Regions from separate parts of the Homo sapiens genome. Here regions 1, 3, 4, 5, 6 and 7 are each linked to region 2. Evidence: promoter capture Hi-C in 16 types of primary human blood cells and fetal thymus (Javierre and others, 2016). All regions are on one chromosome and are shown on one strand. The core of a region is centred on a gene start or on the middle of the fragment in contact, and the rest is flanking DNA. Distances in the headings are between cores, read along the strand shown.

What was found. Contacts are between HindIII fragments. The CHiCAGO score rates a contact against its expected background, and 5 or more counts as called.
Region 1: the fragment with the promoter of GNB3 here is called in contact with the fragment with the promoter of ACRBP in region 2 in 14 of 17 cell types (activated CD4 T cells, naive CD4 T cells, non-activated CD4 T cells and 11 more); the score reaches 19.4 in activated CD4 T cells.
Region 3: a contact is called between a fragment that was not itself captured here and the fragment with the promoter of ACRBP in region 2, in 4 of 17 cell types (non-activated CD4 T cells, naive CD8 T cells, activated CD4 T cells and 1 more). The highest score is 7.3, in non-activated CD4 T cells.
Region 4: a contact is called between a fragment that was not itself captured here and the fragment with the promoter of ACRBP in region 2, in 2 of 17 cell types (naive CD4 T cells and total CD4 T cells). The highest score is 5.3, in naive CD4 T cells.
Region 5: a fragment that was not itself captured here is called in contact with the fragment with the promoter of ACRBP in region 2 in 1 of 17 cell types (non-activated CD4 T cells); the score reaches 5.2 in non-activated CD4 T cells.
Region 6: a contact is called between a fragment that was not itself captured here and the fragment with the promoter of ACRBP in region 2, in 3 of 17 cell types (non-activated CD4 T cells, activated CD4 T cells and naive CD8 T cells). The highest score is 6.4, in non-activated CD4 T cells.
Region 7: a fragment that was not itself captured here is called in contact with the fragment with the promoter of ACRBP in region 2 in 4 of 17 cell types (non-activated CD4 T cells, total CD4 T cells, total B cells and 1 more); the score reaches 6.0 in non-activated CD4 T cells.

Annotation. Positions count from the first base shown.
Region 1 is chr12:6,838,911-6,842,451 of GRCh38, reverse strand. GNB3 (G protein subunit beta 3) reads right to left here and starts at 1,527. Exons shown (of 10, transcript NM_002075.4): 1 at 1,419-1,527; 2 at 1,108-1,194; 3 at 828-866. The coding sequence starts at 1,164. It overlaps P3H3 (prolyl 3-hydroxylase 3), which reads right to left. Exons shown (of 15, transcript NM_014262.5): 14 at 3,312-3,452; 15 at 2,605-3,155. The coding sequence ends at 2,991. The HindIII fragment of the contact is 12,557 bases long and covers 1-3,541 here.
Region 2 is chr12:6,645,598-6,648,828 of GRCh38, reverse strand. ACRBP (acrosin binding protein) reads left to right here and starts at 1,397. Exons shown (of 10, transcript NM_032489.3): 1 at 1,397-1,505; 2 at 1,817-2,035; 3 at 2,252-2,346. The coding sequence starts at 1,463. RefSeq lists enhancers at 1,470-1,539, 1,463-1,976. The HindIII fragment of the contact is 16,958 bases long and covers 1-3,231 here.
Region 3 is chr12:6,391,502-6,394,791 of GRCh38, reverse strand. It overlaps LTBR (lymphotoxin beta receptor), which reads right to left. Exons shown (of 10, transcript NM_002342.3): 10 at 3,226-3,290. Among named protein-coding and RNA genes, the nearest start is that of LTBR, 9.0 kb to the right of the region's middle. The HindIII fragment of the contact is 2,950 bases long and covers 512-3,290 here.
Region 4 is chr12:6,413,798-6,417,194 of GRCh38, reverse strand. No RefSeq gene overlaps it. Among named protein-coding and RNA genes, the nearest start is that of CD27, 29 kb to the left of the region's middle. The HindIII fragment of the contact is 2,514 bases long and covers 600-3,113 here.
Region 5 is chr12:6,446,278-6,449,556 of GRCh38, reverse strand. All of the region lies in intron 2 of CD27 (CD27 molecule), which reads right to left. It overlaps CD27-AS1 (CD27 antisense RNA 1), which reads left to right. Exons shown (of 6, transcript NR_015382.2): 2 at 820-917; 3 at 1,407-1,520; 4 at 2,470-2,596. Among named protein-coding and RNA genes, the nearest start is that of CD27, 3.0 kb to the right of the region's middle. The HindIII fragment of the contact is 2,383 bases long and covers 59-2,441 here.
Region 6 is chr12:6,884,186-6,887,374 of GRCh38, reverse strand. The region is part of intron 1 of LOC105369632 (a long non-coding RNA gene); the gene reads left to right. It also overlaps the pseudogene RPL13P5 and the pseudogene DSTNP2. Among named protein-coding and RNA genes, the nearest start is that of SPSB2, 12 kb to the right of the region's middle. RefSeq lists enhancers at 674-1,221, 2,868-3,189. The HindIII fragment of the contact is 559 bases long and covers 1,660-2,218 here.
Region 7 is chr12:6,473,976-6,477,094 of GRCh38, reverse strand. No RefSeq gene overlaps it. Among named protein-coding and RNA genes, the nearest start is that of VAMP1, 4.9 kb to the right of the region's middle. The HindIII fragment of the contact is 6,710 bases long and covers 1-3,119 here.

The DNA.
Region 1 (3,541 bases), core at 278-2,777, 190 kb before region 2:
CAGACTTGATTTGCCATCACTTGCATTGCTATCTTTTTTTAAAAAGTTAAAAGCAATTTTTTTTATATTAAGAAGAGATCTCACTATGTTGCCCAGGCTGGTCTCAAACTCCTGAGCTCAAGTGATCCTTTCACGTCAGTCTCCCAAAGGGCTGGGATTACAGGCGTGAACCACTGCGCCCGGCCTGCTTTGTTATCTTGGGCAAGTTGCTTCACCTCCCTGAGTCTGTTTACTCAAGGTGTAAAATGAGGCTTATCATAGCACCTACCTTACAGAGATATCATGAAAATTCAATGAAATCAGGTATTTATGCAGCTTAGCCCAGTATCTGGCTCATAAAAAGTGTTCACTATTAACATATTTAATCCAATCTAAGATGCATCACTAAGAAAGAAAAGATGCTGTCAATTCTAATTGAAACAATGATCCATTGCTGAATGCACCTTGATTTCAGAGATGTCAAAATGTGAAGAAATGTGCATCTTAGAATTGACAAAATACAGCATAGAAAACTAGCAGCTAGAGTCTACAAGGGCTTTATAATTTACAAAGTACTATCGCTTCTTCATCTTCAAGGCCCTGGGAGGGGGCTGTGGTCACTCTTGTTCTACGGATGAGAATAGGAACCGTGTCCGCATCTTTCGCATCCAATATGGTGCCTGGCTCAGAGCAGGTCCCGCTAAAATGTTGGTCGAATGAATTAATTAATGGGTTTCCTCACTCCAAGGACGTGCTGTACTAATGCTCGGAGCAACGCGCTATTGCGGGTCGGGGAGCTCCCTTCCCCTCCCCCCATGCCCTGCCTTCCGGGGGACAGGGGGTCTTACCTCTGCCAGAGTAACGTCAGCACAGGCTTTCCTGGCATCCTGCAGGGAAAGCAGACATCAGGGGAGCAAGGGCGAGGTGGGGGTGGCAGGTGCATGGGCCTTCAGGGCAGGTTGGTCTTGGGGCTCTGGGGCTTGGGGGTCTCAAATATGCGAACCAAGTTTAGAAAGTCCCTGGTCACTTCTAGTCACTCAAGAGCAAACCCAGCCCCCTCCCCCTGGGCCACGCTCCTCATGTCCCCAGCTGTTTTCTGGGGCCCCAGGGGTAGGGCTCTGGAGTTACTGCAATCTGCTTCTTGAGCTGCTCCGCTTCCTGACGCAGTTGCTCCATCTCCCCCATGGCTGACAGGTCGAGGGGTCACTCTGGCTCCTGCCAGGAACATGGGGTCGGTGTTGAGGAACCCCCCACCAGGCTGTGCTTCTGCCCTTCGTGCCCACACCAGACTCCAAGACACAGGGAAACGACTGGGTGGCTGCACCCTCTCCCCAGCTAGGCCCTCCAAGTTTGAGGTCCTTTGCGTCCAGCCCCAGCCTGCCTGAGCCCTGCCTGCGCCCCAGCCCAGGAGAGCAGAGCCCAGGCCAGCTCCCTCTTACTTGGGCTCTGGCTGGACCTCGGCCGGGTTTCCAGCTCCGGTTCCTGGGAGCCTCCTTACTCCCTCAGCTGCGACGCCCGCGCCCGCCCGTCACCTGCCCAGGCTCTGCTGCCAGAGGAGCTGGCCTGGCCTGGCCTGGCCCCGACCGGCGGGGGGTTGGGGGGGCCTGACAGGGAAGGGTAGAGCCAACCACAACGTCAGGCAAATGAAATCAGCTGGCAGGGGTGGGGGGAAGGGGTGGGGGGAGGGAGGGAGGTGTACGGATTCCAGAGAGACTTGGGCCCAGCCGGGAGGAGGGTTGGGGGCAGGAGTGTGGGGCCATAGAGAGGGGCAGCCCCCACCACAAGCCCTGAGAGAGGAGGGGGTGAAGGGGTGCTTCCCTGGTCAGTCTCTGCAGGCAGAGATAAGAGCATCAGGCCCCACAGGATTAGAGCAAAGCTGTGAGGATTAAGGGTTGGGGTTTGGGAGGGGTGCAAAGGAGCAGACAACTACAGCTCCAGTGGCCCCCCTGGTCCCGGCCCCCATCCATGGTGATGATCTTGGCAGTCAGGGCCACTTAGCAACCAGGCCAGGAGGTGGGATATAAGGGTGATAGATGGCCCCATTGTCAGTACCTCAAACTGTGCTCCTCAGCTCAGGGTGGTGGGGAAGAGGGTTTGGTGAGTATGGGAGGGTACAGGCAGGAGCTGAGATTAGAAAGGACTGATCTGGATAATCCTTCTTCTCGACAAACCCCAACCAGCTGCCTCTGGGTCTGATCCTGTTGGGGGAGAAAGGTACAGGGGACCCACAGAGAAGGATGGACAGGTCTGCCCCTATTGTGGGCGGGCAACGGATTTCAAGTGGAGGGAAGGCCCGCACGCTGCTCCCAGGCTGGGGTCTGGCCCCCTCCTTGCCCTCTCGAGGCTGTGAAAGCAGGGGTCAGAGAGAAAGCAGGCGGCCCTAAGTCTCAGCAAAGCTCAGAGAGGGAAGACAGGGCTTACACTTGGAGGCCTAAGGAGCAGCTGCCAGGGGCTTGGGTCATTTGCATGAGGGGAGCAGGTGGCTGAGATTTCCCTGACAAATCACAGGCTCCAGGCGCCCCGCCTCTGGGAGGCCCAAAGACACCTGTCTCCTCCCAGGCCAGCCAGAGCCACCCCCACCTCCAGCCATCACAGAATCTGTGATACACTTGACTGGCCCCTGGCTGAGAGATCTTCACGACCTTTATTGCACAGACTGGGAGAGAGGAGCAGGGTTATACCTCCCAACCCCACCATCCTCTTCATTTAAAGCATCAGCCTCCTCCCCTGCCATTTCTGTTCAGGGAGGCACAGTGTTCCCCATCTGTCCAGGGCTGCAGGTCCGGCAGCGGGGCCCCGTCCCAGCTCCCCAGGCCTGGTGAGCTCCAGGCTAGCCTGTGCACTGTCCTCTGAGTCCAGGCCCTTGTAGGTCCCCAAGATGGTGGGGGTGCAGGGACAGAGAGCTTGCTGTTCTGCTCCTGATGTCACACAGGGGCTTCCTGTGTGTCCTGGCATCAAGATGGCCTTCCACAAGTCAAGTGGCCACATCCTCAAGGAGCTGGCTCAGCCACTCACAGCTCCTCCCGAACCCGAGGTGCCCTTCCAGTCTTGTCTTGGACCCTCTGGTGCCTGCGGCTAGGGGGCTCTGGGGAAGGGTCTTTGCTGGGCATTTCTTCCTCTTCCTCTTCCTCCTCCTCCTGTGACTCCTGCAGCAGTTCTTTGGCTTCTATCCACTCCTGGGGTTGGGGAGGAGAGTGTGGCCCATTCCCTGCACCCACCTTCCCTGGGTCAGCTCAGCCCCTGACCCTCACCGACTGTGAGCCTTCTCGGGGGCTCCTTGCCCACCCTTCACGCACCAGGAGAACCACATCCCTTCCTACCCCGCTCCTTACCTGCTCCCTGTGCTCAGGTGCCCACGTGTGCCACAGTGCCAGGGCACAGCGCCGTCCCCGAGTCACGGCCCACACCCCATGGGGATTCTCGACACCGGAGCTGAAGGCCACAAGGCGCCCACAGCGAGGACGCACCCGAGCCTGGAGGGATGAGGGCAGGTTCAGCTCCAGGGATTGGCTCTCTCAGAGAACTTGGCCCTCACTCCCTAGAGCAGGATGGGGACAGGGGC
Region 2 (3,231 bases), core at 148-2,647:
CCTCCTACCTCAGCCTCCCCAAGTAGTAAGTGGGACAACAGGCGCACACCACCACACCTGACAATTTTTGTATTTTTTGTAGAGACAGGGTTTCGCCATGTTGCCCAGGCTGGTCTGGAACTCCTGGGCTCAAGGAATCCACCCGCCTTGACTTCCCAAATGCTGGGATTACAGGCGTGAGCCACCAAGTCTGGCCCAAGACAATTTCTTGTTTTATTTTTCTTTTTTACTTTTGCTTTTGGGTGGGGACAGGGTCTCACTTTGTCACCCAGGCTGGAGAGCAGTGGCCCGATTGCACCTCACTGCAGCCTTGGCCTCATGGGCTCAAGCGATCCTCCCATCTCAGCCCCCCAAGAAACTGGGACTACAGGCACGTGCCACCACGCTTGGCTAATTTTTTGTACTTTTTGTAGAGACGAGGTTTCGCCCTGTTGCCCAGGCTGGAATTTCTCATTTTAAACACAAAACAGATACAAAAGCAAAAGTTCTCCTCCCATACCTCAGTGGACTGTCTTACTCGATTCTCCCTTGGAAACCACTTTCGTAGACCACTGAGCCACCCTCTTGTTTTCCCCTTGGACCCATTTTGCTCATGGAGGCGCCCTGTCTAGTTCCTACCCAGATAGGCCTTGACTTGGTTTTGCACATTCTATCTCTGCCTGCGCTTAGCTCTAGACCTCACGACCTGTTTGTTGGGCGAGTTGCTTCCCTAAGCCCCGATTTCTCATCTGTAAAACGAATGATAGTGTATCTACCTTATGGGATTCCTATGGCAATTACGTAAGGTAGTGCATGTAAAGATGCTAAGTGGCTGGCTACGGTGGCTCACACCTGTAATCCCAGCACTTTGGGAGGCCGAGGTGGGCAGATCATTTGAAGTCAGGAGTTCAAGACCAGCCTGGCCAACATGGTGAAACCCAGTCTCTACTAAAAATACAAAAATTAGGCCGGGCATGGTGGCTCACGCCTGTAATCCCAGCACTTTGGGAGGCCGAGGTGGGCGGATCACAAGGTCAAGAGATCGAGACCATCTGGCCAGCATGGTGAAATACCATCTCTACTAAAAATACAAAAATTAGCTGGGCGTGGTGGCGTGCACCTATAGTCCCAGCTACTCGGGAGGCTGAGGCAGGAGAATCACTTGAACCTGGGACGCCGAGGTTGTAGTGAGCCGAGATCGCACCACTGCACTCCAGCCTGGGCGACAGAGTAGGACTCCGTCTCAAAAAAAAAAGAAAAAGACGCTAAGTGAAGGTAGCTGTTTGCCATTCCTACCATCTGGATGGGCTCTGGCCACTTTAGGGCCCTGAGAGCCCGGCTGTCGAGGCCCCGCCCCGGCCCGCTCTTTGTGACGCGTGGGCGGTGCCCGCGTGCGCCCCGCCCCGCGCCTGCGGCTCTCTCTGCGGCTTGGCCCGTTAGAGGCGGCTTGTGTCCACGGGACGCGGGCGGATCTTCTCCGGCCATGAGGAAGCCAGCCGCTGGCTTCCTTCCCTCACTCCTGAAGGGTGAGAGGTTTACACCTGCTCCAACAGACTCTCCCCGGGCTAGTCCTCTCCCTCCCGAGAGCTCTGCTTTTACGGTTTCTGGATCGCTTCCTCATGGTGGTCGCGCTGGGTCGGCTCCCTAGGTCCTGGGATACTCCCATCTCCCCCCGCCCGCGGCCGGACCTTTGCCTCTGTCTCTAGACTCCCCCCGCCCTGGTCAGCAGGGATAACCCTCACCCCGTTCCTAATTTGCCAGTCTGGGTCTGTCTGTCCTGGTCTCGGAGCGGGTTTTGGGGTTCGGTCCTTCCATCATCCGTTCGCCCGCTCCGCAGTGCTGCTCCTGCCTCTGGCACCTGCCGCAGCCCAGGATTCGACTCAGGCCTCCACTCCAGGCAGCCCTCTCTCTCCTACCGAATACGAACGCTTCTTCGCACTGCTGACTCCAACCTGGAAGGCAGAGACTACCTGCCGTCTCCGTGCAACCCACGGCTGCCGGAATCCCACACTCGTCCAGCTGGACCAATATGAAAACCACGGCTTAGTGCCCGATGGTGAGGGCCAGACTAGGGGGGAAACCGAGGCACCCAGAGTGTTCACCCAAACCTCAGGGCAAAAACCCCTGTGCTCATGTGAGGCGGGGAAGGGCATGGCTGGCACCACACCATGAGCTCGTACTCTCCACCCTCCCCATGGCGTGGAGTCCATTGCCCACAGCCCCACCCCAAGCTCCCCACGGGTTCATCTTCTCCACCCCTGCCCTTTCTCAGGTGCTGTCTGCTCCAACCTCCCTTATGCCTCCTGGTTTGAGTCTTTCTGCCAGTTCACTCACTACCGTTGCTCCAACCACGTCTACTATGCCAAGGTGAGGCCCAGGACAAAGGTTGGATTTGGTGCCCCAGGGCCAAGGGAGAGGCGGCAGCAGTGGGGAGTTGAGGAAGGGTTCCAGGAGAGTCATCCTTAGCTCCTCCTTCCCTGCCATTTTGCCAGTCATTTACCCAGATTATATATGAATACAGTCTCACCTTGGATATTCAGATTGAACAATTCTGTTACTGCAAGAAAAGTAGAGAAGAGACTGGGCATGGTGGCTCATGCCTGTAATCTCAGCACTTTGGGAGCCCGAGATGGGCAGATCACCTGAAGTCAGGAGTTCGAGACCAGCCTGGCCAACATGGTGAAACCCCGTTTCTACTAAAAATACAAAAAAAAAAAAAAAAAATAGCCGGGCTTGGTGATGGGCGCCTGTAATCCCAGCTACTCGGGAGGCTGAGGCAGGAGAATTGCTTGAACCCGGGAGGCAAAGGTTGCAGTAAGCCGAGATCATGCCACTGCACCCTATCCTGAGTGGCAGAGCAAGACTGTGTCTCAAAAAAAAACAACAACAGGGACGAGTGCGGTGGCTCACGCCTGTAATCCCAGCACTTTGGGAGGCCGAGGCAGGCAGATCATGAGGTCAGGAGATCGAGACCATCCTGGCTAACACGGTGAAACTCTGTCTCTACTAAAAATACAAAAAATTAGCTGGGCGTGGTGGCAGGCGCCTGTAGTCCCAGCTACTCGAGAGACTGAGGCAGGAGAATGGCGTGAACCCGGGAGGTGGGGCTTGCAGTGAGCCGAGATCGCGCCACTGCACTCCAGCCTGGGTGACAGAGTGAGACTCCGTCTCAAAAAAAAAAAACAAAAAAAACAAACCCAAAACCCAAACAAAAAGAAGTAGGGAAGAGGGATGGGAAGAGGCAAAGAGATA
Region 3 (3,290 bases), core at 737-3,236, 250 kb after region 2:
ATACCCTGGAAAGGAAGACTTCCCTGTGCATGTCATTGTACAATTGCAAAGAAGAATGAGTTTATTGGCTCCTGGGATTGGGGGAAGGGCCTCTTCTCCTGATGTCACGGAATCTCTGCTCTAGTACAAAAATGCGGTTCTGTCCTTAGGAAATGTGCAGAAGTCTGTTGGACAGGCAGCAGAAAGAGTCCACCACAGCTGTCTATGTGAACCGCTTTATCTTTTGAAAAGGGAAGTTCTTACTGACCCTTGTTGGGCTGACCCTGCCGGTACTCACAGTGCTTCCTGCGGGAAAAGACTAGAGTGAGTCTCCTGTGAAGTCTCAGACTGGTGGGGAAGCCGAACGCCCACCTCCCATCCACTGTGTCCACTGGAGAAACCGAGCATCCAGGGACTCCTCTGCGTGTGGCACTGTGCGGGCTTGGGGAGGAGTGGCGTGGTCAGAAAGCAGCCATCCCCTTACCGTCCTCATGGTTTTTCTTGGCTCTGCCATCCCAGGGGATGCAAAGCTTCACTCCAAGTTCTGGGATATTCAGGGTGGTAAACTTGCCACAGGATTGTTGCTAGTTGAAATTCTGTTGGGGAGGAGAGAAGCCGGAGAACTCCTACTTTGACATTGTGTTGATGCCACTCTCAAAAAGGGAAATTCTGAATTACCCCATCCTCCCCCATCTCCCTGTGCTACTGCTCTGTCCCCAGTTCCATCCACCTTTCTTCTGGACTACAGCCTTGGCCCCCTAACGGGTGTCCCACCCCCGTGTTGATGTGGGTTGGACTTGGTGTTAGCTTTCTCCTCCCTGTGGTAGAGGATTAGGGTTCTCACAACCAACAGTTACCCCATTGTCAACTGCCATTGCATCCTGTTGCATCTTTTGAAGACCACCATCAAGAGGCTGTCTTTGTTGGTTTTCTGCCAGCTTTTCCTTGTAGACAGGAGCTCCCCTCTACGTGGCCTGTGCTCTGTGGATGTGTCCTGGAGCCTGTACTGACTCCACACTGGCAAAATAGACATGGGTAATGCTGTGGGTGGAACTGTGTCTCCCTCCAAAATCCACGTGCTGAAGCCCTAACTCCCAGGACCTCAGAATGGGGCCTTATTTGGAGACAGGGGCTTTAAAGAGGTGACTAAGTTAAAATGAGGTCATCAGGATGGGCCCTAATCCACTAAGAGAAGATTAGGACACACTCATGCACAAAGGCAAGACCATGTGAAGACATAGGTGGCAGGAAGGCCACCATTAGCAGGCCAAGGACAGAGGCCTCAGAGGACACCAACCTTGCCAACACGTTGACCTCTGACTTCCAGCCTCCAGAGCTGTGAGAAGATAAATCTCTGCAGCTTAAGCTATCGAGTCTGCAGTACTTTGTTATGGCGGCCCTAGAAAATTAATTTAGGCAGCCCAGGTGCAGTGGCTCATGCCTGCAATCTCAGCTCTTTGGGAGGCTGAGGTGGGAGGATCACTTGATCCCAGGAGTTTGAGACCAGCCTGGACAACATAGCAAGACCCCACTTCTTAAAAAAGAAATTAAAAAAAAATTAGCCAGGTGTGGTGGCACGCATCTGTAGCTCTAGCTACGTGGGAGGCTGAGGTAGGAAGATCATTTGAGTCTAGGAGCTGAGGCTATATGAGCCACGATTATACCACTGCACTCAAGCCAGGGCGACACAGTAAGACCCTGTCTCTAAAAAAATACAGGCAGGTATAATTATAAATTTGAATGGTGTCACAAAGGGCTGTGCTTCAGCATCATTTCTTTCAAAATATTTTCCTCCTTTTATTTTGTTGAAAAAAATGTATAAAATTTGTTTTTTATCTAAACACATTAGAACAATTATTAAGAATTCATGAGGTCTGGCCCCAGCATATTGCAGGGGCAGGAGGATTTAACTTTATTTAAAGATACAGCTCACCATTATTTACTTTTCAAAAAAGGAAGTTGGATGTGATATTTTCACAGTCAACCTTAAATGACCCATCCACTCCATTGGATCAGACGCCTTCTGAGGTGTGTGTTTTGCAGCCGCCCCACCCTGATGAGCTCCAGCGACAGAGTTCCTCATATCAGACCCATGAGAGTGGCCTTTTATGGAAGGAGCAGCCGGCTGGCAGCAGCTCCCTAACAATCCTGCAAGCTAAGATCCTCTCGACCGAGCACAGGAGAGAATTCAGGGGCAGGGAGGGGCAAACATTTACTAATAAGAGGGCTTGAGAAGATTTAAAGTCCTTTTTGGGGGTAAAAATAAAAGAAGACAAAAAGAAACCAAAAAAGTAAAAATCATAAATACTCTTTCTGAACCAAAAGGAGGCCAGCCTAGATTTCTGTTCACCAACAAAATGTGAACTTGGCCTCTCTCATTTTATGTCTAAAGTGCACACCTCAGGTCAGGCACGGTGGCTCTCACGCCTGTAATCACTGCATGTTCAGAGGCCAAGGCAGGAGGATTGCTTGAGCCCAGGAGTTCGAGACCAGCCTGGGCAACACAGGGAGACCTGATCTCTACTAAAAATACAAAAAATTAGCTGGGCGTCGTGGCACACACCTATAGCCCCAGCTACTTGGGAGGCTGAGGTGGGCGGATCCCTTGAGCCAGGAGTTCAAGGTTGCCATGAGCCATAATAGTGCCACTGCACAACAGCCTGAGTGACAGAATTAGATCCTGTCTCAAAAAAAAAAAAAAAAATTGCACACATTTCCCTTCAATCAACCTTGGAGAACATTTTTCACTTCGCGTGTGGCTAGATGTTTGAGAGTTGACTGAAAAGTAACACCTGCGGAACATGCAAGAGATCTGATTATTTGAGAAGGCCAGACCATTCTACCCGTTCAAAGAAATTCTGGAAGGGCGTGGTATATGAAGGCTTTTTTTTCCCCAAGAGGCCTCTAAAAGCCAGACGAACTAGGTGCAAATCCCAGCTTTGTCATTTGCAGCTGAATTGGGAAAGTTACCGCTCTGTGCCTCAGTTTCCTCATTTGTTAAATGGGAATCATATCTACCTTAGGGAGTTATTGTGAAGATTAAGTAAGTTAGTACTGTAAAGCATTGAGAACACTGCCTGGCACGTTGTCAGCCATCACTGACGAGACTGTTATTACCTGGACTATACTCACCAGCTCCTCACTGAAATATCTTTATGGGATTATATTTTAGTGTCTTGACCTTTGTCTTTGAGATTGTCTCCATGGAATAGTGTTTCTGTATAAATCCCAAGAAAATAAATTATCTAGGTCCCATTCTTTTTATTTGCATGTGGTTACAATATAAATACACTTGCCATTTTCCTCCCCTT
Region 4 (3,397 bases), core at 607-3,106, 230 kb after region 2:
TCATCTGTTGACAGCAAGAGCATGATGAGGTAGCATCTGGAAATTTGCATAGAGGAGGTGTGAGCACTCATTGCATGGAGGGAAGGAGCAGGTTGGTCACTGGGATGTAGCAGGATCGCCAGGCAGTGTTAAGGCCCTGGTGGGACCGTAAACTTGAAGTCACAACATGTGAGACTGTCCGTGGTACTCAGAGATTCACTGCAAATGTGAAGAAGGAAATAGTTCAGTTCATCCAGAAGCGGGATGTTTCCATAAAGGTGTGATTAAAGTTCAGAAAAGCAAGGGACTTTATAGTATCAACAAAAGTGACAAAAACAGTGGACTATAGGATGTAAGATGGACAGAAAGGGAAGTGAAAATGGAAGGAGCTGATGCCTGCAAACCAAGCAGAGGAGGCAGAGGACTGGCAGTCCTGAGCGAGGGGCTGAGGCATAGTGGGAATGGTTGAGCAAGAATTGAAGGTTGTGGTCAAAGAGTTTCCACATCTGAAAAGTGGAGGAAATGGCGAGTTGTAATGAGGATTAAAAGTGATAGAACTTGTGCTTCATATGCTGTTACACATTGTATCAATGTTTGTTTGTTTCAATAGTCTACAAGCTTCTTGAAGGTAGGAATCATGTCGCAGACATTCCTGTCCCTAGCATGGCACCTGATGCCAGCAGGTGCTTAGTGAACCTATGAGTGAATCTCTTAGAAGGATGAAGGAAAGAACTGATTTCCCTATAAGACTTTAGTGCTGTGAGAATTTTCTGGACTCTCTCGTTTTAATTTTCTGGACTCTCTAATTTTATTTTTATTTTTATTTTTTATGTTTTTGAGACAGAGTCTCTCTGTGCTGTCCAGGCTGGAGTGCAGTGGCACGATCTTGGCTCAGCACAACCTCTGCCTCCCAGGTTCAAGTGATTCTCCCCTCTCAGCCTCCCAAGTAGCTGGAATTACAGGTGTGCACCACCACACCCAGCTAATTTTTTGTATTTTTAGTAAAGACGGGGTTTCGCCATGTTGCCCAGGCTGGTCTTGAATGCCTGAGCTCAGGCAGTCTGCCTGCCTTGGCCTCCCAAAGTGCTATGATTACAGGTGTGAACCACCATGCCTGGCCAATTTTTTTTTTTTTTTTAATTTTTAGTAGAGACAGGGTTTCACCATGTTGGCCAGGCTGGTCTTTAACTCCTGACCTCAAATGATTCACTCGCCTCGACCTCCCAAAGTGCTGGGATTACAGGAGTGAGCCACTGCACCCGGCCTTTCTTGATCTTAATTGATCTAACAGGCAATAGTTTGTTCAAAATAATAATAGCATCGTGTATTTGGTCATATATATATATGTTACACATAAGTAAAATGAATGATGGTAGTAATACAAAGGATGGGGGAAGTAATTAGGATTATTTTGTTATTATAAGGTACTTGCACTACATGTGAAGTAGTATGGTGTTATTTGAAAGCAGACTTGGATTAGTTTTAACTGTATATTGTAAACTCCAGAGCAATCACTAAAATAAAAGAAATGGAAAAAAAACAAGTATAGCTGATATGCTAAGAGCAAGGAGAGAAAATGGAATAATACAAATGCTCACTTAAAATTACAAAAGCCAGAAAAAGAGCGGAAGATAAAAGTAGGAACAAACAAGAGCAACAATGAGAAAACAGTAACAAATATGATAGGTATGAATCCAACTATGTCAATAATCACCTCGAATGTCAGTGGGGTCTGAATGCATCAATTAAAAGACAGAGACTGTCAGAATGAATTTTTAAAAAGCCCCAACTATATGTTGTCTACAATAAACCCATTTTAAATATAAAGGCACATACAGACCAAAAGTGAGTGGATGGAGAAAGATATAGTTAGCATTAATTAAAACATAGTGGGGCTGGGTGCAGTGGCTCACATCTGTAATCCCAACACTTTGGGAGGCTGAGGCGGGTGGATCATGAGGTCAGGAGTTCGAGACCAGCCTGCCCAACATGGTGAAACCCCATCTCTGCTAAAAATACAAAAATTAGCCAGGGCTGGTGGCGTGTGCCTGTAATCCCAGCTTCTTGGGAGGCTGAGGCAGGAGAATTACTTGAATCCGGGAGGCAGAGGTTGCAGTGAGCTGAGATTGCGCCATTGCACTCCAGCTCTGGGAGACAGAGCAAGACTCCATCTTGAAAAAAAAAAAAAAGGAAAAAAAAACAACAGTGGGCGTAGCTATATTAATTTCAGATGGAGCAAATTTCAGAGTAAGCAAAATTATCAGGCAGAAAGAGGGGCATTAGTTTCAGATGGAGCAAACTTCAGAGTAAGCAAAATTATCAGGCAGAAAGAGGGGCATTACATAATGATAAGGGGGTCAATTCTGCAAGAAGACATAATCCTTGCTGTGTTGCACCTAATAACAGAGCATCAAAAATACATGAGGCAAAAATTGTTACAATTGCAAGGAGAAATGATGAATCCACTATTAGAGATGGAGACTTCAACATCCTTCTTCCAGAAATGGACAGATCCAGCAGGCAGAAAATCATTAAGGATGTAGTTGAAATCAGCAACACCATAAATAACTGGATATAATGAACATCTGTAGACTGCTTCACTCAGCAATGCATTCTTCTTACAGTCACATGGAACATTCACCAAGATAGACCACACTGTGGACCATAAAGCACACCTTAACAAATTTAAAAGAGTAGAAATTATGCAATGCCTGCTCTCAAACTACAATGAATTAAAGTAGAAATCAATAACAGAAAGATAGCTGAAAAATCTCAAAATACTTAGAAATTAAACAATGTGATTCAAACAACCCGTGGGTCAAAGAAGAAATCGCAAGAGAAATTTTAAAATATTTTGAACTAATGAAAATGAAAACACAACTTATCAAAATTTGTGGGATACAGCGAAAGTAGTGCTTAGAGGGAAATTTATAGCATTGCATGCATTATAGTAGGAAAGAAGAAAGATTTATTATACAATCAACTACCTTAGAAACTAGAAAAAAAAGAGTAAACTAAATCCAAAGCAAGCAGAAGAGAAGAAATATAACGATTAGAACAGAAAGCAATAAAATTGAGAACAGGAAATGAGTAGAGAAAATCAACAAAACCAACAACTGGTTCTTTGAAAAGCTTAATAAAATTGGTAAGCCTCTAGTGAGACTAACCAAGAAAAAAATCAAGACAGAAATTACTAATGTCAGAAGTGAAAGAGGGGACATCACCACAGAGCCCATAGAAATTAAAAGGAGAGGACCGGGCACGGTGGCTCATGCCTGTAATCCCAGCACTTTGGGAGGCCGAGGCTGGTCGATCACTTGAAGTCAGGAGTTGAGACCAGCCTGGCTAACATGCTGAAACCCCATTTCTACTAAAAATACAAAAAATTAGCCGGGCATCTTGGTGCGCACCTGTAATC
Region 5 (3,279 bases), core at 1-2,500, 200 kb after region 2:
AATAACTTTTAATTAAAGTATAATATACGTACAGAGAGGCACGCATGATTGTAAAGCTTAAGAATTTGTACAAATTTGGCTCACAGGCATAACCAGCAGCAGATCAACAAATATAAAATAGCCGGGTGAGGCAGGGAATTGCTTGAACCCGGGAGGTGGAAGTTGCAGTGAGCCGAGATCACGCCACTGCACTCCAGCCTGGGCAACAGAGTGAAACTCCGTCTCAAAAAAAAAAAAAAAAGAAAAGAAAGAAAGAAAATAGCCAGGTGCAGTGGCTTACGCCTGTAATCCCAGCACTTTGGGAGGTTGAGGTGGGTGGATTGCTTGAGCTCAGGAGTTTGAGACCAGCCTGGCCAACATGGTGAAACCCCGTCTCTACAAAAAATACAAAAATTAGCTGGGTGTGGTGGTGCACACCTGTAGGCCCAAGCTACTGGGGAGGCTGAGGTGGGAGGATCGCTTGAGCCCGGGAGGTGGAGGTTACAGTGAGCTGAGATCATGATACTGCGCTCCAGCCTGGGTGACAGAGTGAGATCCTGTCTCAAACACCACCAACAAAAAACAAAACAAAGTATATTAGGGATTCCCAGGGGCTGGGGCTGGGGCTGGGGTTGGTTGGGGGGAAGAAATGGGGAGTCATTGCTAAGGGGTACAAGTTTCTCTGGGGTAACGAAAATGTTATAGAATTAGATAGTGTTGATGGCTGCACAACCTGTGGATACACTAAAATAAATAAATAATAAATAGTTACTTGATTACAGTTACTTAGCCTTTATTTTGTTTGTTTGTTTTTTGACAGAGTCTTGCTTTGTCGCCCAGGTTGGAGTGCAGTGGCACGATCTCGGCTCAGTGCAACCTCCGCCTCCTGAGTTCAAGTGATTCTCCTGCCTCAGCCTCCCTAGTAGCTGGGATTACAGGTGTGTGCCACCACACCTGGCTAATTTTTTGTATTTTTAGTAGAGACGGGGTTTCACCGTGTTAGCCAGGATGGTCTCAATCTCCTGACCTCGTGATCCGCCCGCCTTGGCCTCCCAAAGTGCTGGGATTACAGGCGTGAGAATTTGCCTTTAAAATATACATTTTGCTCAAGTGTAGAGGTCCGATGCTGGGTGGCTGGGTGTTAATTATCCTGGGGGCGGGTGTGGTAGGGCACTAGCTGGGCTGGGCTGGGCTCGCTGGCGGCTGGTTTGAGAGGAGGGTGATTCAGAGGAAGGCAGTGACACCCAGATGTGGGACAGGCTGCAAGAAAGCCTGGTGGGCCTTAGGGCAGACACTTGTGGGGACCCGGGGAGCCCTAGGTGCCCTGACAGGTGGAAGAGGGGTGCAGAAAGGGAGGATGTCAAAGAGAGAATGTCAAAGGTCATAACCAAACCTAACAATTTTCTTCTACTTATGCCTTTTGTCAGGACAAGGAGAGGGACAAATTCCTTCTTGGCATCCTTATGGCCCTGTGACCTGCTAATGAATGCTGACTCTGAGTTGCTACTAGAATTTGGTTTCCTTGTGGCTTCCCAGGAATTGTGAGCCATGTTGGATAAGGACCTGCAAGGGAAGAATGAGGAAGCCTGGGACAGTGCAGGAGGGGAGAGCACTGGTGGTAGAGAGGAGTGATGACAAGGGTCTCCGCCAAAAGGGAAATGGAGGGGTTAAAGAAGCTGCTGGGGAGGGTTAAAAACAATGTGTTCTCACTCGTAGGTGGGAATTGAACAATGAGAACACTTGGACACAGGAAGGGGAACATCACACACTGGGGCCTGTCGTGGGGTGTGGGGAGGGAGGAGGGATAGCATTAGGAGATATACCTAATGTAAATGATGAGTTAATGGGTGCAGCACACCAACATGGCACATGTATACCTATGTAACAAACCTGCACATTGTGTACATGTACCCTAGAACTTAAAGTATAATTAAAAAACAAAACAAAACAAAACAAAAACAATGAGGTGCTATTGTTTTAGTGGTGAGTATCCGGAGACCTGGGAGTTCTATTTACCAGGTATAACCTGGGCTCAAAATTCCAGGCTGACTTCAGGCATGTCCTCATCTCATAGATGCCAGCACTAAGGCCCAGAGAGGGCCGAGCTCATTCAGCCCACCCATCTTCTCACCCCTGACTGCATTTCCCGGGGGTCCTTCTGCAGCCAGGTGCTGCTGTGGTACTTTGGGATCTATTGGCTGAGCTCCCAGAGAAGGGTCATGGATTGGGCTAGTTTGGAACAAGTGAAGGGACTGAAGATGGGCTCAGTATGGGGCGAAGACCTTCAGGAAGGGTCTGCAGAGTGAGTAGGGGGGTTTTGACTAGGAAAAGTTCCAACCCTGCCGGGGCCGCTGTCAAGAGAAAAGCATCTATTACAGTTACATTTTTAAGTTAAGTAGACTGAAGAATATTTCTTGTGTATTAAAGACGTTCCTTTTTGGTTGATTTGCAATGGAAAAGCTTTTGTTTTCTTTTTTTTTTTGGAAACAGGGTCTCACTCTGCTCACTCTGTCTCCCAAGCTGGAGTGCAGTGGTACAGTCACGGCTCACTGCAGCCTCCACTTCCTGGACTCAAGTGATCTTCTCACTTCAGCCTTCTGAGTAGCTGGGACTACAGGTTCGTGCCACCACGCCTGGCTAACTTTTTGTATTTTTAGTAGAGACAGGGTTTTGCCATGTTGCCCAGGGTGTTCTTAAACTCCTGGGCTCAAGGGATCCGCCTGCCTTGGCCTCCTAAAGTGCTGGGATTACAAGTGTGAGCCACTGCTCTGGCTTTTTGTGTGTGTGTGTGTGTGTGTGTGAAAAAGGGTTTTGCTCTGTTACCCAGGCTGGAGTGCAGTGATGTGAGCAGCCTGGACCTCTTGGGGACCTCTTGGGCTCAAGTGATCTTCCCATCTCAGCCTCCCAAGTAGCTGGGACTGCAGGTGCACTACCATGACCAGCCAATTTTTTTAGAGACAAGGTCTCACTATGTTGCCCAGCTGGTCTCAAGCTCCTGGGCTCAAGTCTCTACAAAATATGCAAATACCCTTCTGCCTTGGCCTCCCAAGTGCTGGGATTATAGGCATGAGCCACCACATCTGGTGTTGGTTTTTGTTTTTGTTTTTACGGGACCAGGCACTACAGCTCACACCTGTAATCCTGGCACTTTCAGAGGCTGAGACTAGAAGATTGCTTGAGCCCAGGAGTTCAAGGCTGTGGGGAGCTATGATTGCACCACTGCACTCCAGCCTGGGTGACAGAGCTAGACCTTGTCTCTAAACTAAACAAAACAAAACCCAGTACCAAGAGACCCAGTGA
Region 6 (3,189 bases), core at 690-3,189, 240 kb before region 2:
TAATAAAAAATCTTGAGGAACTGATAAAAATCACCCTCAGGAGAAAAAGGAAAAGACCAAACTAAAGCTTCATAAATTTACTGAAGTGTTTCATGCTGCAAAATGTCTGAATAATTTTTTTTTTGCATTATTCCTGATATATTACAAGTCCTCAACAGGGCTTTATTTTTTTTCTTTTCTTTTCTTTTCTTTTTTTTTTTTGAGACAGAGTCTTGCTCTGTGGCCCAGGCTGGAGTTCAGTGGCACAATCTCGGCTCACTGCAACCTCTGCCTCCCAGGGTCAAGCAATTCTCCTGCCTCAGCCTCCCTCGTAGCCAGGACTACAGGCACACGCCGCCATGCCTGGCTAATTTTTTGTATATTTAAAGTAGAGATGGGGTTTCACCGTGATGCCCAGGCTGGTCTTGGACTCCTGAGCTCAAACAATCCACCCACTTTCGCCTCCCAAAGTGCTAGAACTACAGGCGTGAGCACCGCGCCTGGCTATTTTCTTTTTTCTTTTCTTTTCTTTTCTTTTTTTTTTTTAAAAAAACAACTTTAGACTTTAGATATATGTGGGGAAAAGCAAAAGAGATCAGATTGTTACTGTGTCTGTGTAGAAAGAAGTAGACATAGGAGACTCCATTTTGTTCTGTACTAAGAAAAATTCTTCTGCCTTGAGATTCTGTTAATCTATAACCTTACCCCCAACCCCGTGCTCTCTGAAACATGTGCTGTGTCAACTCAGAGTTAAATGGATTAAGGGCGGTGCAAGATGTGCTTTGTTAAACAGATGCTTGAAGGCAGCATGCTCCTTAAGAGTCATCACCACTCCCTAATCTCAAGTACCCAGGGACACAAACACTGCGGAAGTCCGCAGGGACCTCTGCCTAGGAAAGCCAGGTATTGTCCAAGGTTTCTCCCCATATGATAGTCTGAAATATGGCCTCGTGGGAAGGGAAAGACCTGACCATCCCCCATCCCGACACCCGTAAAGGTTCTGTGCTGAGGAGGATTAGTAAAAGAGGAAGGAATGCCTCTTGCAGTTGAGACAAGAGGAAGGCATCTGTCACCTGCCTGTCCCTGGGCAATGGAATGTCTTGGTATAAAACCCGATTGTATGCTCCATCTACTGAGATAGGGAAAAACCGCCTTAGGGCTGGAGGTGGGACCTGCGGGCAGCAATACTGCTTTGTAAAGCATTGAGATGTTTATGTGTATGCATATCTAAAAGCACAGCACTTAATCCTTTACATTGTCTATGATGCAAAGACCTTTGTTCACGTGTTTGTCTGCTGACCCTCTCCCCACAATTGTCTTGTGACCCTGACACATCCCCCTCTTCGAGAAACACCCACAAATGATTAATAAATACTAAGGGAACTCAGAGGCTGGCAGGATCCTCCATATGCTGAACGCTGCTTCCCCGGGTCCCCTTATTTCTTTCTCTATACTTTGTGTCTTTTTCTTTCCCAAGTCTCTCGTCCCACCTTACGAGAAACACCCACAGGTGTGGAGGGGCAACCCACCCCTACAGATATATTTAGGGCTGTTTGCATATGTTTATAGAGTATTTAGTTTACTCTAAAAGATGACAAGACAGCTCCCCTCAGTGAGACCCTGGCCTAAATATATTTGCTTTATTTATATAGCAAGAGGATAACATTAAACGTGGAAGCTTTCAATTTGTGGCACTGAATGATGATCTACACAGGGCATCCTTCAAAGGCTACAATTAAGGATCCACTGGCCAGGCATGCTGGCTCACGCCTGTAATCCCAGCACTTTGGGAGGCCAAGGAGGGCAAATCACGAGGTCAGGAGTTCGAGACCAGCCTGACCAATATGGTGAAACCCTGACTCTACTAAGAATACAAAAATTAGCCAGGTGTGGTGGCGCACGCTATAATCCCAGCTACTCAGGAGGCTGGGCAGGAAAATCACTTGAACCCGGGAGGCAGAGGTTGCAGTGAGCCGAGATCCTGTCACTGCACTCCAGCCTGGGCGACAGATCAAGACTCCATCTCAAAAAAAAAAAAAAAGGATCCACCTAACTTTTCAGCAGTACAAGCCCGATTGAGATCTTCTGGTCCGTTTGTTTGCCATTCATGTTTTATGCCTTGAAATTTCTTTTTGATTGCATCCTTGGAGCTTGTATAGATCATTTTACTTTTCAAAGGTGCTAGTTCTGATGCCCACAAGAAAACATCAATTCTTCTGGATTCTTTTGTTTCAAAGCTTGCATCATACAAAGCATAGCAACAATCTTTTTCAGGAAGCATTCCCACAAAATGCTTGAAAGGCTCACTTATAGTTACACCAACATCTCCAACCAAGATCTCTTTGCCTTCTACATGATGCACTTTTTGTCTGCACTGAGACAAAAAAATGACAGCCTTTGTTCTTTTCTTGATTTCTTCTGGTGTGGAGCATTTACGAACTCTCATGTCATAAAAAATGCGACACACTTCATCAGCAACTTGCACTCCTGAGGCACGTTGTTCAGAGTTCTGCTCTGCCGAGCTTCCAGTCTTTACATTCAATTTCCTATCTCACATCTCCAGTTGTATGTCTCAAAGGCATCTGATGCACAACAGGTCATCTTCGCCCACCACCACAGGGACGCGGGGGAGGGAGCCGGCGGGTAGTGAGTCTGGGCAGCGTCCTCCTCGTGGCTGCGGGACTGAGAGGGCGGGTAGTGAGTCTGGGCAGCGTCCTCCTCATGGCTGCGGGACCGAGAGACCCAGCGCGAAGCTGATGCAGCGGCTCGAGCCTACCCGTTTTTTTTTTTTTTAAGCGTCCTCTTCTACAGCTTCCTTGGCTCTTTGTGCCTATATGCCGAAGAGCTGGGCATTTGCATGGGCCATACAGAGACTAACAAGGCCTGGAAGTTTTCCTCCTAGTCAGCGATGACTCTGGCTTTCTCCTTGTAGACATTGCCGATGGGCATTTCTGGTCCTGTCAGCTGAGTATCCAGTTCGAGTTCTTCAGCAGAACTGTCTCCCTTCTTGGGGGCCAAGGGCTTCCTGGGGAAGAGGATGAGTGAGGAGCGGTCCTCCTTCAGCCTCTGCACCTTGGCCTGCAGGGCCTGGGTGGACTGGTTCCTCCTCCTTGCATCCTCAGAGATGCCAATGGTCTGGGCCACCTTCTTGTAAATGCCAGCCACCCTTAACTCCTCCAAGCTGAGGCCCCTGCCAGCTTGTGCTTTGTA
Region 7 (3,119 bases), core at 305-2,804, 170 kb after region 2:
AAAAACTAAGTGAAAGCCAGTAACCAGGGAAGTTGCTGAGTCCCAAAGACTATTTTGCTCTGAGGGTATTTGCTATAAAGTTTAATATGAGCGTAGCAGCCTCACAGGCTACCACTGTGGCACAGGAAATAAAGCCCAGGGCTTACCCAAGGTTGGAAATCTAATAGAAAGTCCTTACCATAAAGTCAGAACCCCAAAGGACTATATCCTCATCTAAGAATGAATTACGAATATACTAGAACCCAAACTGCCCCAGAGCACTCCGTGGAATGTTGTTTGTCTGGAACCCAGGTGCCTGCTGGAGTTCTTTTATTTTTTTCTTTTAAGTATTTGCAGAGAATGTATAACCACAGGCTGTGGTGTTTCTGCCTGAACTCTTTGTTGATCCTAAAAAGAAAATGGCAAGAATTTAAAGTGGTTTTGGATTGACAGTACCACCAAGAACCCAGCAGAAGCAATGCAGATCCTTTCTGGATGAACTCATCTTTAATCTAGGCCTCGGGGAATTTCCACAGATACAGTTCCAAGAAAAATAAATTGTGGTCAAAAATTCCAAACAAATAAGGAACAAGGCACCAAGAACAAGAACCAGCAGAGATGGAGACAGGAAATAAGAAAGATAATTAGAAAATTAAGCCAAATAGTCCAATATCTAATTAATAGTCCGATGTCTAAAAAGAGAAAACAGGATATGTGAGGGAGAGGGAGAAAAAAGGGTGTGTGTGAGATTGATTTTAAAAGAAATACAAGACTCGCGCCTGTAATCCCGCACTTTGGGAGGCTGAGGCTGGCAGATCATCTGAGGTCAGGAGTTCGAGATCAGCCTGGCCAATATGGTGAAACCCCGTCTCTACTAAAAATACAAAAATTAGCCAGGCATGGTGGCAGGCGCCCGTAGTACCAGCTACTCAGAAGGCCTCGCGAGGTGCCGGGATTGCAGACCAAGTCTTGTTCACTCAGTGCTCAATGTTGCCCAGGCTGGAGTGCAGTGGCATGATCTCGGCTAGCTACAACCTCCACCTCCCAGCCGCCTGCCTTGGCCTCCCAAAGTGCCGAGATTGCAGCCTCTGCCCAGCCGCCACCCCGTCTGGGAAGTGAGGAGCGTCTCCGCCTGGCCGCCCATCGTCTGGGATGTGAGGAGCCCCTCTGCCCGGCTGCCCAGTCTGGGAAGTGAGGAGCACCTCTTCCCGGCCGCCATCCCGTCTAGGAAGTGAGGAGCGTCTCTGCCCGGCCGCCCATCGTCTGAGATTTGGGGAGCGCCTCTGCCTGGCCGTGACCCCGTCTAGGAGGTGAGGAGCGTCTCTGCCTGGCTGCCCCGTCTGAGAAGTGAGGAGCCCCTCCGCCCGGCAGCTGCCCCATCTGAGAAGTGAGGAGCCCCTCCGCCCGGCAGCCACCCTGTCTGAGAAGTGAGGAGCGTCTCCGCCTGGCCGCCCATCATCTGGGATGTGAGGAGCCCCTCTGCCCGGCTGCCCAGTCTGGGAAGTGAGGAGCACCTCTTCCCGGCCGCCATCCCGTCTAGGAAGTGAGGAGCGTCTCTGCCCGGCCGCCCATCGTCTGAGATGTGGGGAGCGCCTCTGCCCGCCCGTGACCCCGTCTAGGAGGTGAGGAGCGTCTCTGCCTGGCAGCCACCCCGTCCGGGAGGGAGGTGGGGGGTCAGCCCCCGCCCGGCCAGCCGCCCCGTCCGGGAGGGAGGTGGGGGTCGCCTCTGCCCGGCCACCCCTTCTGGGAAGTGAGGAGCCCCTCTACCCGGCCACCACCCCGTCTGGGAGGTGTACCCAACAACTCATTGAGAACGGGCCATTATGACGATGGCGGTTTTGTGGAATAGAAAAGGGGGAAAGGTGGGGAAAAGATAGAGAAATCAGATTGTTGCTGTGTCTGTGTAGAAAGAAGTAGACTTGGGAGACTTCATTTTGTTCTGTACTGGGAGGGGTTCTTCTGCCTTGGGATGCTGTTGAGCTGTGACCTTGCCCCCAGCCCTGTGCTCTCTGCGGCCTGTGCTGTGTCCACTCAGGGTTAAATGGATTAAGGGCGGTGCAAGATGTGCTTTGTTAAACAGATGCTTGAAGGCAGCATGCTCCTTAAGAGTCATCACCACTTCCTAATCTCAAGTACCCAGGGACACAAACACTGCGGAAGGCCGCAGGGTCCTCTGCCTAGGAAAACCAGAGACCTTTGTTCACTTGTTTATCTGCTGACCTTCCCTCCACTATTGTCCTATGACCCTGCCAAATTCCCCTCTGCGAGAAACACCCAAGAATGATCAATAAAAAAAAAAAGAAAATGGCCAAAAGACATGAACCAACATTTCATCAAATAGGATAATATATACAAGGCAAACACTTTAAAAGATATTTGATATCATTAGCCATCAGTGAAATAAGAATTAAAACCACAATGATAGCACTGAACACATATTAGAATGGTTAAAATAAGAAAAATACAGCTGGGCATGATGCCTATAGTCCTAGCTACTTGGGAAGCTGAAGTGGGAGAATTGCTTGAGCTCAGGAGTTTAAGACCAGCCTGGGCAACACAGGCAAAGGCAGTTTCTTATAAAACTAGAGATGCAATTACCTTACTGCCCAAGCATTGCACTCAGGCATTTATCCCAGAGAAATGAGAATTTATGTTCACACAAAACCTGTATGAAAGTTCACAGCAACTTTATTTGTAATAGCCCAGTGCTGAAATCACTCCAAATGTCCTTCAGCAGGTAAATGGTTAAATGTACCACGGAATATTAATCAGTGGTGAAAACTAATGATACACACAATAACTTGGATGGTTGAAAAAGTAATGATACACACAATAACTTGGATGAATGAAAAAAGCCAATCTTGAAAGGTTACGTGATATAGAAAAAAGCATGACTACATTTACATAAGGCTCTTGAAATAAAGTTACAGAGATGGAGAACAAATTAGTGTTGCTAAGGTTTAGGGATGGCGGTGGGTTGGAATATAAAGGGGTAGCACATGGGAGCCTTGCAGTAATGTGAAAATGCTGTATCCTAACTGTGGTTGTGGTTACACAAATCTACACATGATACAATTGCATAAAACCACTCAAACACACACGAACACAAAAAGAAGTGTTTGGTGGTACATGCCAGTTTG